2 separate regions of the Homo sapiens genome follow, and region 1 is linked to region 2. The links are contacts of gene promoters, found by promoter capture Hi-C in blood cells and fetal thymus (Javierre and others, 2016). All regions are on one chromosome and are shown on one strand. Each heading gives the region's core, a stretch centred on a gene start or on the middle of the fragment in contact. The rest is flanking DNA. Distances are from core to core; before and after follow the strand shown. Region 1 holds the start of ZNF404 (zinc finger protein 404). Region 2 holds the start of ZNF234 (zinc finger protein 234).

Region 1 (5,714 bases), core at 969-3,468, 260 kb before region 2:
TCTGTACAAATCCCTCTGATCCGAGTTTAAATATTCCCACTCCTCCTGAGAGAAGTCTATGGCAACATCGCTGAATGTCAATGGCACCTGAAATGACAAACCTGTGTATTATTTGTAAAAGTAAAGAAGACTTTTCAAGATGGAACATTAAATTGCAATAAAGGGGCAATATGTAAAAAGAAGTAGTCTAGAGTTACAAGATGATGACATGGTTAGATAAGAGTAAATAAATTAGCATGTCTTAAGTAGAGTGCCCACACAATCTTAAGGAATCCTGTTGGAGCACACAAAATTTTCTTAGTAATATTAGAGAAAAATCCAAATATATAAAAATAAATGAAGTCACCAAACTTTCCAAATTAAATAGTATATATAAGCACAATACCTTCTACGTACCTAAGCCATATAATATTAATAAATACAAGTTGTTACAGCTTTTCTCTTCGAGGAATATGAAAAACCATGAATTGATAACTACCCCCTCCCCCAATTGTATTATAAAATCTTTTCCAGCCAACACGGAATAACAGGGATTGAATTTACCTTCTTGTATGAAACAACTGAAAATCTGAACAAAATATATTAAACCATGGTTTTCAAGACAGAAAACATTGCGCAATGATACCTGAAAGACAAGTAACAAATGAGGTGAAACCTACAGTCACACTAGTTTACTGTAAGGAGACAATTTCTAGGCTGTGGCACAGGGAGCGGGAACCTAAGCAAAGCCCACTGGATTCCACTGAGAACAAGAAAAGTACAAACCAATATCCATCATGGACACAGATGCAACGATTCCAAACAAAGTTTTAGCACATCAAATCTAACAGTATATAAGAAAGGGAACTCTATTATGACCAAGGCTCAATCCAAGCCTGTCTCACATTTAAAAATCAATCAAGGTAATGCACCATATTCACAAACTACAAAAGAAAAACCGTATGAACATATCAATAGATGCAGAAAAGGCATCTGACAAAAGCCAACATCCACTGCTGATATCCTTGGTGAAACAAGAAAAGAAGGGAACATCCTTAACCCAATGAATGACATCTATAAAAAACCCATAGCTAACATCACATTTGATAGTGAAAGGCTGAATGCTTTCCTCCCCAAATCAGGAATATAGCAAGGATATCTACTCTCACCACTTCTATTCAACATTGTACTAGCGGTTCTAGCCAGTGCAACTCAGGCAAGAAGAAGAAATAAAAAGCATCTAGATTGAAAAAGAAGTAAAAATCTCTTTATTCACAGATAACATGATTGTCTATATAGAAAATCTAATAGAATCTAATAAAAATTCATTAAAACTATCAAGTGAGTTAGCAAGCTGAGAAGATACAAGCTCAATATGTTAAACATAAATGGCATTTTAATTAGCAACAATTGGTGGAAATTAAAATTAAAAATACTGAATATCAAATGAAAAATATAAAATACTTAGGAATCAATCTAACAAAAGATGACAATACTAATACTCTCATAACTACAAATAATTACTGAGAAAAAACTTAAAAGATCTAAACAAATAGAAAGCTATAATATGTTCATCAGTCAGATGACTCTTACCTTTGCAAACAGATCCACAGATTCAACAAAATCTCAGTCAAAATCCCAGCAGAGGCCAGGTGCGATGGCTCACCCCTGTAATCCCAGCACTTTCGGAGGGTGAGGCAGGCGGATCACCTGAGGTTGGGAGTTCGAGACCAGCCTGACCAACATGGAGAAACCCTGTCTCTACTAAAACATACAAAATTAGCCAGGTGTGGTAGCGCATGCCTGTAATCCCAGCTTCTCAGGAGGCTGAGGCAAGAGAATTGCTTGAACCTGGGAGGTGGAGGTTGCAGTGAGCCAAGATCACATCATTGCACTCCAGCCTGGGCAACAAGAGTGAAACTCTGTCTCAAAAAAAAAAAAAAAAAAAAAATCCCAGCAGAGCTTTTGTAAAAATAGACAAGGTGATTCTAAAATTCAGATGAAAACACAAAGGATCTAGAATAACCTAGACAACATTGAAGAAGAGCACAGTTGGAGGATCAACCCTACTAATTGGAAAGCTTAACGTAATACTACAATAATAAAGAGTATGTGGTGTTTGCATAAACGTAGACAAATAAGTCAATGGAACAGAGTTGAGAAATAGACCTACACGTATCTAGACAACTGGCTTTAAACAAGTGACTAAAGGCAATTCAGTGGATAAAGGACCGTCTTTTAAAAAAATGGTGTAGGAACAACTGGATATCTATATGCAAAATAAATTATCCATACCTTGTACCATATGCCAAGATTAACTTAAAATGGCACATGGAGATAAACATAAAACATAAAACTATAGAGCTTCTATGAGAAAACACAGTATAAAAATCTACATAAGCTTGGGGTGAGGCAAAGATTTCTTAGATACAACACCAACAGTACAATCCCTAAAGAAAAAGTACAATCTGTAAAGAAAAGAAAAAGCTGATAAACTGGATTTCATCCAGAAATGGAACTCTCATACACTGTTGGTGGGAATGTAAAATGGTATTATCACTTTGAAAAATTAAAAACTTCTGCTCTTCAAAATTCAGTTAAAAGAATGAAAAAATGGCCAAGTATGGTGGCTTATGCCTGTAATCTCAGCACTTTGGGAGGCTGAGGTGGGAGGATCACTTGAGCCCAGGAGTTTGAGGCTGCGGTAAACCTTGATAACAAAACTGCACTCCAGCTTGGGCAAGAGAGCAAGACCCCATCTCTAAAAAAAAAAAAAAAAAATTAAAAAGAGGCTGGGCATTGTGGCTCATGACTGTAATCCCAGCACTTTGAAAGGCTGAGGTGGGCAGATCACTTGAAGTTAGGAATTCAAGACCAGCCTGGCCAACATGGTGAAACCCCATCTCTACTAAACATACAAAAATTTGCTGGGCATGGTGGCAGGTGCCTGTAATCCTGGCTACTTGGGAGGCTGAGGCAGGAGAATCGCTTGAACCTGGGCAGCAGAGGTTGCAGTGAGCCAAGATAACGCCACTGTACTCTATCCTGGGTGACAGAGTGAGACTCCATCTCAAAGAAAAAAAAAAGAATCAAGTGACAAGCACCCTCTTATTAGATTCATCTTTCTTAAGGTATTAAGGCACTATTATTAAAAATAATATTATTGTATAAAGAATTATACTAATATGGCATGTATGTTGGACACAAATTCCAACCTCTTCCCCATAGTTCAATATCATCTACCACATATCATTCTAGTTGATTTTCCTTTCTACAACTCTTTATAGATCTGTTCCTGAGTTGGAACACAGTAATGCAGAATGATCCAGAACAACCTTGATTCCCTCAGGACTGTCAATTTCTCTTCCACTACAAAATGGGACCCTGGAATTGTTTTCATTTCTCAGTGATCCCTTAGCTAGATCCCTAATCTCTCTCTAGGTAAGTGATAATCCCATCTTCACTCAAACCTAAATGCGTTTCAAAGTTGAGATCTCATCTCAAACAGACTGAGACCACTCATAACCAAGTTTTCCCTTATCTAACTGTGGAGATAAGGGAGCTGTGGAGAAAGTTTCCACTCCTGTAGTCAAATAGGACCATTGTTCCTATGCCACGAAACCATGAACCTGACAACGGCAGCTCAACTATTTCAAGGTACTTCACTCTTTCACTGCTCTAACACTGCTCTTGAGAGAAGACTGAACACACAGAAGATGGATGAATTATTTGAAAATAAGTGAAAATCAGTTCAAAAAAGGAGGGCAAATGAGGAGGACATCATCCATCACTGGAATGGGAGGAATGTGAAATAGGTTCCAAGAGAGAGCTTTCTGAGATAGGAGGTTTCAGGATTAAAAAAATGAAAATATTACATGAATTAAAAAATCACAATAAGTCAGAAAAGCAAAAGAGACATCAACTCACCCGGGCCATGGTTTCAGAAATGCTAGTTCTCTTCAGGTTTCCTCTATCAGAGAAGCAGAGTTCAGAGAAGCCAAAGCTAGGTAATCAAGGCATCACCTGCCAAAAGATACGTAACTTTACTAAAGAGATGTTTCTAAACAATAAGATACTGTCATTTTACAGGTATTTAGTTGTCACATTTAAAAGGTTGATGATGTACCACATATTAGTGAGGCTGTAGGGCAAAGTGCATTCTCATGGTGTCCTGTAGACTTGTGAAAATCAAGGGCATTAATACAGGTAAGCAAATCTCTGCATAAGAACTTAACCACGAAAGGCCATTTCTGAGACTCTGTCCAAAAGAAATAATTATAAAATGTGCTCGAAGATGTATAAAAGAATGTGATGATACATATTAGTTGTAATGAAAAAAGCTGGAGAAAAATCTAAAGAGACATAGACAGGTAGTTAATTAAATAAATGACTGTGTATTCACATAATGGAAAATAAGGTAGATATTAAAAACTATTGTGTAGATCACTGGTTCTGAACAGGCAGTGAATCTGTTCTTAAGAGAACGTTTGGCAATGTCTGGAGACACATTTGGTTGTCATAATGTAGGCAGAGGTGTTAAGGTATCTAGTGGAAAGAGACCAGGTTTGCTGCTAAACAATGTGTGATGCACAGGAAAGTCCCTAAAACAAAGAATTAGCTAGCCAAATATGTCAATAGTGTCAAGGGTGAAAAACCCTGAAGTAGACTCATTAAAGGAAGATAACGTAATCCAGAGTCTCTATAATATATAATAGATTATGCCAACACATGATAACTGTTAAACACAAAAAAACAGGAAAAAGTTACTAATGAGCAGGAGAAAAAAAAATCTCAACAGAAACAGACTCACAAAGAATCCAGATATGGGAGGTAGCAGACAAGGGCTTGAAAATATGATTAACATGCTAAAGAAAAGAAAAGATGAGCAAAATGGATTGCAAAATGGAGTAAATCAATAGAGTATCAGATCTGAAAAGATAATCACATGAATATTTTAGAATTACAAAATTAATTAAGAGCTTATTGCGGTGGCTCATGCCTGTAATCCCAGTACTTTGGGATGTCAAGGCGGGTGGATCATTTGAGGTCAGGAGTTTGAAACCATCTTGGACAACATGGTGAGATCCCGTCACTACTGGAAATACAAAAATTAGCCAGGTGTGGTGGCATACGCCTGTAATCCCAGCTACTTGGAAGGCTGAGGCAGAAGAATTACTTGAACTGGGGAAGTGGAGGTTGCAGTGAGCTGAGATCGTGCCACTGCACTCCAGCCTGGGTGACAGAGTGAGACTCCGTCTCAAAAAAAGAGCTTATTATGCAACATTAAGTCAAATTTACAATAATCTTTCTTTCAAAAAATCCTCTATGTCTATTATTATTATTTTAGAGATGGGGTCTGGTTCTGTCACCCAGGCTGTAGTGCAGTGGTATGAGCATAACTCACTGCAGCCTCAAACTGCTGGGCTCAAGTGATCCTCACACCTCAGCTTCCCAAGTAGCTGGAATTACAGGTATAAGGCACTGCACTGAGCCTCAAATTAACAATAATCTTATGCAGAGAGAAAAAAAGAGAACACAATTGAAAAGAAAAATGCAAGAAACAGTGAAAATGTGACACTGAACATCTAGAAGAAAATAAGAGAGAATGGGACAGAAAAATTATTTAAAGAAATAATAAACAAAAACATTCCAAATCTCAGGAAATACCTTGATATACAAATCAAAAAAGTTGTCAAACCTAATCAAAATAAAATGAAGAAATTCACACCTAGAGA
Region 2 (6,095 bases), core at 953-3,452:
CGTGATCTCGGCCTCCCAGGTTCAAGTGATTCTTGTACCTCAGCCTCCTGAGTAGCTGGGATTACAGGCATGTATCACCATGCCACGCCCAGCTGATTTTTTGTATTTTTAGTGGAGACAGTGTTTCACTATGTTGGCCAGGCTGGTCTCAAACTCCTGGCCTCAAGTAATCCGCTGGCCTTGGCATCCCAAAGTACTGGGTTTACAAGCGTGAGCCACTGCGCCTGGCCGAGATGGAGCATCTCAATAAATTTTGTCATTTGGAAGGGCCGACTAGAGCAACAATACAGCTGTAACTAGTATAGAAATAGCAGTCAGTCAATTTTCAAAGAGGGGGATGTGTGGCATTGTGTGGTTAGCATAGTAACCTTGTTTTTATGTAAACACAATTGTGAAAAGGTATTTTTTTAGTTTATAAAATGAATCTAGAATGTGAGACTTCATTTTTTAAAAAACAAAAATATAGATTGATAAGTGTATTAGTCCATTCCCCCATTGCTATAAAGAAATACGTGAGTCTGGGTAATTTATAAAGAGGTTTCATTGGCTCACACAGAGTCCTGCAGCCTGTAAAGGAAACATGGCAGCATCAGCTCAGCTTCTGGGGAGGCCTCAGGAAACTTACAACCATGCTGCAAGGCGACTAGGGAGCCAGCACTTCACATGGCCAGAGTAGGAGGAAAAGAGCGAGGAGTGAGATGCTACACAATTTTAAACAAGCAGATCTCATGAGAACTCTATCAGGAGAACAGCACTAGAGGGATGGTGCTAAACCATTAGAAACCTCCCCGGTGATCCAATCGCCTCCCACCAGGCCCCAACTCCAACACTGGGGATTACATTTCAACATGAGATTTGGGTGGGGACACAGATCTAAACCATATCAATAGGCCAATGTATGTTTATGGGGAGAAAAAAATCTGGTTATCTTTTTTTTTTTTTTTTTTTCCGTGACAGAGTCTTGCTCTGTCGCCCAGGCTGGAGTGCAGTGGCATGATCTCGGCTCACTGCAACCTCTGCCTCTCAGGTTCAAGCGATTCTCCTACCTCAGTCTCCCGAGTAGCTGGAATTACAGGCACGCACCACCATGCCCGGCTAATTTTTGTATTCTTAGTAGATATGGGTTTTCACCATGTTCTCCTGGCTGGTCTCGAACTCTTGACCTCATGGTCCGCCCGCCTTGGCCTTCCCAAAGTGCTGGGATTACAGGCGTGAGCCACCGCACCCAGCCCCTGGTTATCTTGAAGAAAGATTTTAGATGGGTTTTTTTCTGATTTTGCTTTATTCTATTATTTATTTGTATCAACCAATGTAAGCCAGATTCCAAATTGCTAACTATAATGACGATATTTTAACCAAAAAATATAAAGGAAGAAAATAAAATATGTTCCTTCACGTATAGGATCCTCCTTAATGCTACTGCATTAAATAAATCATAGGCATTGGGTGTCTGACATCAATGCCAAGCGCTTCACCAGTTATACTTGCTTTGAAGTATTGGGCAATTTAAGAGCTTCTCTGAAATTTGGTGTTTTTACCTCTTCAGTAGACATAATACCATGAAAAGTGTAAACGAAAGAAGATAGCTTTTCCATGAGGACAGGGCTTCCCCACTGGCCCTCTCAAATGATGATTGTTTTTCCTGCCAAACCAGTGGTACCACAGCGTCTGGAGTAGGGGCTGGCACCTTCTTTGTTCTTCATTGCCTCTCCCAAACCATTGTACTTGCTCACTCTTCCAACTTTTAGTTTTGGCCTCATATTATCAGTTTATAGTAATCAATCATCAATCATCTACTGACCCCTAAAAAGTCATTCCCCATTTAGTCCTTGAAGATTGTATCTCCTCGCTTGTTCTCTTTCCAATAATCCTCCGTAGTCCTGGGAGGCGTTTAGACTTCAGGAATTGCTGTCTATTCAATATTTTCGCTCAAGGACTCAGGCAGAGGGAAGGACGACTCTCAGGGTCACAGTCCACATTCCCTACCAAGCGCTCAGCGATATAGGATTCGTTCCCCATGGGCAGTGCGGGAATCGTAGGCAAGGAGCACCGCGGAGTCCCATCGCTTTTCCCTGAAGGGTGAGATTCTGAACGTTTTTCCCTCAGCATTCTGAGTGTAATCCAAACGCTCAGTGGAGTCGTGGTCCATTTGACCCACGCAGGGGGATCCGGGGAATTCTGGGAAATGTAGTCCCGCCAATCAGTGGAGTCGCGGGCACTTCCGCTCCAGGGAAGAGGGGGCGATTGTCACGGCACATTCCACGGTAGTTTCTTCCAGTTCCGCGACTCGCGGGCCCCTCCTAATGTCAGGGACTTAAGATTGGGGCTCGCTGGGACCTGGTGGTCCGGTTATGGGAAAAGAAGCCTCGTGGGAGAGCAGAGGTTTGGTGGGGCGAGGGCGGCGGCTTTTGTTGTGTCAGCGGAGCCTTCTTGGGCTGGGGCTCCCCTCGTGTCCCGCGGCGGGAGGCGGGGGGCATTGGGACTTGGTTGGGTCGCGTCTCGCCTGGTTTGAGGGTTTCCGGGGCTCTGAGCTCGCCCACTCCGCCTCCCTGCACTCCAGGCGCGCAGTCACTTTTTTACAGTGCAAGGTTGGCGTGTTAATCTCCCTGGGCCTCTCCTTGCTGTTCTTTAAAATGGGGACGTTAGGACCATCTTTGTAGAATCGTTTTGGTAACTGGAATAGGTTACACAACACAAACAGTCCCTGTCACTTGGTGAGTGGTGGTTTCTTGTTACTTTCCCACGAAACCTGTTAGGTCCCCCGGTGGGGTCAGAGCTCCAGCAGCAGGGGCCTCAGCCCTTATCTCTGATCCCTGCAGGACGCTGGACGATCCCGGACGCCTTCTGACCTCTTTTTAGGCAGGCGAGGGTTGCGTCCACTTCCACGAAGGGAGGGGAGCATTTAACTTTTCTCAGGGACAGCGACCCAGTCAGGATGTTTCACAGCTTTCTCCTTCCCCAGCCTGAAAAAGGACTGCGCGGACTGACTTCTTGGCTACTGAAAGCAAAGCTCCACGTGAGTGTGACTTGTCATTTTTCTTTTACAGAGACTGTATCTTTGTAGCATGTGTAATAGGGCATGGGCATTTATAATAATTAAGCCTTAATTGCTAACTTCAATTCTAGGGGATTTATACAATTAGATACGTTTAAGCCGCAACGTGACTCTGTGGAGAGGTACTGGTCATCCAAGTAGTAAGAGGTGAAACTTGGGTTGGAACCTAGGCATTCAGGGTCAGAGCCCGAGTTGATCATCTCTTGGATATATTCTCATTGAGGCAGAGGAACTAGCTGTACTCAGGTGGGGAAAGTAAGTTAGAACTTGATTAAAGGACCTTAAGAGCAAGGCTAATTGCCTTGGAGTTTTCTCAGTTTTTAAAAACTGTCAACTATTTTGTTTCATTTATTACAAATATTTCACATTCTAATAGAACCGTATCACTGTGAAGCATTCAGAAATTACAGAAATACGAAGATACAAAAATTGTAATTACCTATGAAATCAGGATGTAAAGATAGTAATGGTTAAATTTCTAATGCATTTTGTTTTAGTGGTTCCATGTTTATATTACTTATAAATGTTTTACAAAATTTTTATTATACATTTCTCAATGTTTTTCTATTTATCTGCTTATCCATGGAAATTTCCAGATAAAGAGATAATAAACTAGTGACCTGCCATATTCTATCATGCTCATTCTTATTCTTCTCATTATTATTTCTCCTATGACTATTTCCTGATTTTTTAAAAAAACTTTAACACAGTAATTATATAATTTTAAGTCTATAGAAAAGTTGCAAAAATAGTATAAGAGGGCAGGGCATGGTGGGTCATGCCTGAGTCCTGAGTTATGGAACTGAGGCACTCAGGGTCACAGCCCGAGTAATCCCAGCACTTTGGGAGGCCAAGGCCTGTGGATCACTTGAGGCCAGGAGTTTGAGACCCGCCTGGCCAGCATGACAAAAACTCGTCTCTGGCCGGGCGCGGTGGCTCACGCCTGTAATCCCAGCACTTTGGGAGGCCGAGGCGGGCGGATCACGAGGTCAGGAGATCAAGACCATCCTGGCTAACATGGTGAAACCCCGTCTCTACTAAAAATACAAAAAATTAGCCGGGCGTGTTGGCGGGCACCTGTAGTCCCAGCTACTTGGGAGGCTGAGGCAAGAGAATGGTGTTAACCCGGGAGGCGGAGCTTGCAGTGAGCCGAGATTGCGCCATTGCACCCCAGCCTGGGCAACAGCGCAAGACTCTGTCTCAGAAAAAGAAAAAAAAAAAAAAAAGAAAACCCGTCTCTACTAAAGATACAAAAATTAGCCACATGTGGTAGTGCGCGCCTGTAATCCCAGCTACTCTGGTGGCTGAGGCATGAGAATCGCTTGAACCCAGGAGGAGAAGGTTGCAGTGAGCCAAGATTGCACCACTGCTCTCCAGCCTGGGCAACAAGAGCAAAACTCTGTCTCAAATAAATTAAAATAAAATAAAATTAATTTTTATGAGTAGATATACTTGTTAGTGGGCAACATACTGTAAAGACCAGCATCCCCTGTTCCCCTGTTTGCTTATTCATTCATTCAAAAGTAAATATTCTATCAATATGGACTCAGAACGCAGTCTTGTTAAATTAAATGACATGTAGATTAATAATTTTTTTCCAACTTTATTGAGGTGTATTTTATGTATCAGAATTCACCCATTTCAAGTGTACAATTCAGTAATCTTTAGGAACTTTGCTGAGTGTAGTAATCATCATCATCATTTAGTTTAGATCATTTTCATCCCCCAATTGGACTCCTCTTGCCCATTTACAGTTAATCCCCATTCTTATCCTAAATCCCCATCAACAAGTAACCTACTTTCTTTATAAACATTTGTCTGTTCTGAACGTTTCATATACATGAAATCATACAATCTGTGGTTTGGTGTGCCTGGCTTCTTTCACTCAGCATAGTGTTTCCAAGGTTCATGCATGTTGTAGCATGAGTCAGTACTTCATTCCTCTTAATTTCCAAATAAGATTCCATTGTATGGATATGCCAGGATTTGTCTATCCATTTTTCCATAGGAGGGCATTTTGGTTGTGTGCAGTTTGGGATTATTATGAATAATGCCACCGTGACCATTCGTGTGCTAATTCACAGTACACATCTGTGTTGGTGGGGACATCCCTGGCCACGCTTTCATGTCTCTTTTTGTGTCTTCCATAGTGTTCCAGGCACGATTCTGCCTTCTCTCAAATGGCATAACTCAGGACTCTGCAAATTCCCAGAAACAGGAGGAAAAATGACCACATTCAAGGTGAATAAGGCTTGCCACTCTTGCTGTTAAAATTCCATCTCACTATTCTCATGTTTCCTGAGGAAGACTCAAGAACAACGGGCATTTGAGAACCTGTTTATGCTAAGTGCATCCTTCTGCCTTTTGAGTTGACTTTGTTTTTAGATGTTGTTTATTTTATTATTTCAGTTGACCTTCTGTATCTGTGGGTTTCACATCTAGGGGTTTTGCGTCTTTGAATTTTGCATTTGTGGATTCAACCAACCACAGATTGAAACCTGAGTCTATGTAAAGCTGACCATACATATTTTCCTTTTGCGGTTGATTGAGTCTGTGGATGTGGAACCCATGGATGTGGAGGGCTGACTGTAGTACAAACACTATTTTAGATAAGGGACTTGAGCATCCACAAATTATGGTATCCTCAGGGGTCCTTGAACCAATTCCCCAAGCGTATTGAGCGACAACTGTATTTATTTTATGGAGTAGAAAAATTGGTGTGAATGAACAGTTCTCCTACTTTACTTCTCTGCTTACGTATTAGCTGTTTTTATTTTCTTATAGTCTTTTCCTAATGTGCATTCATAACTATATTGGTATTCATGATATATATCTCATTTTTGTTATTTTTTCCTTAAGTACTAAATAATGTTCATTTTTTGAGGTTATGCCATATACCCATTTAATTAATGTGCCTTTTTATTTTTGACTACTTCCCATTCATGGACATTTAGGTGATTTAAGAATTTTATTGTTTTACATAACACTGCAATGACAATTTTCCTACATAACCGTTTCCTCAAAAATCAATTCTGAAAAC

The links. Contacts are between HindIII fragments. The CHiCAGO score rates a contact against its expected background, and 5 or more counts as called.
Region 1: a contact is called between a fragment that was not itself captured here and the fragment with the promoter of ZNF234 in region 2, in 8 of 17 cell types (erythroblasts, total CD8 T cells, M2 macrophages and 5 more). The highest score is 7.4, in erythroblasts.

The regions. Positions count from the first base shown.
Region 1 is chr19:43,880,050-43,885,763 of GRCh38, forward strand. ZNF404 (zinc finger protein 404) reads right to left here and starts at 3,915. Exons shown (of 3, transcript NM_001033719.3): 1 at 3,907-3,915; 2 at 1-87. The coding sequence starts at 3,915. The HindIII fragment of the contact is 320 bases long and covers 2,059-2,378 here.
Region 2 is chr19:44,139,352-44,145,446 of GRCh38, forward strand. It overlaps ZNF234 (zinc finger protein 234), which reads left to right and starts at 2,203. Exons shown (of 6, transcript NM_006630.3): 1 at 2,203-2,382; 2 at 2,963-3,016; 3 at 5,206-5,296. The coding sequence starts at 5,282. RefSeq lists enhancers at 2,231-2,630, 2,385-2,975, 2,641-2,690. The HindIII fragment of the contact is 9,485 bases long and covers 1-6,095 here.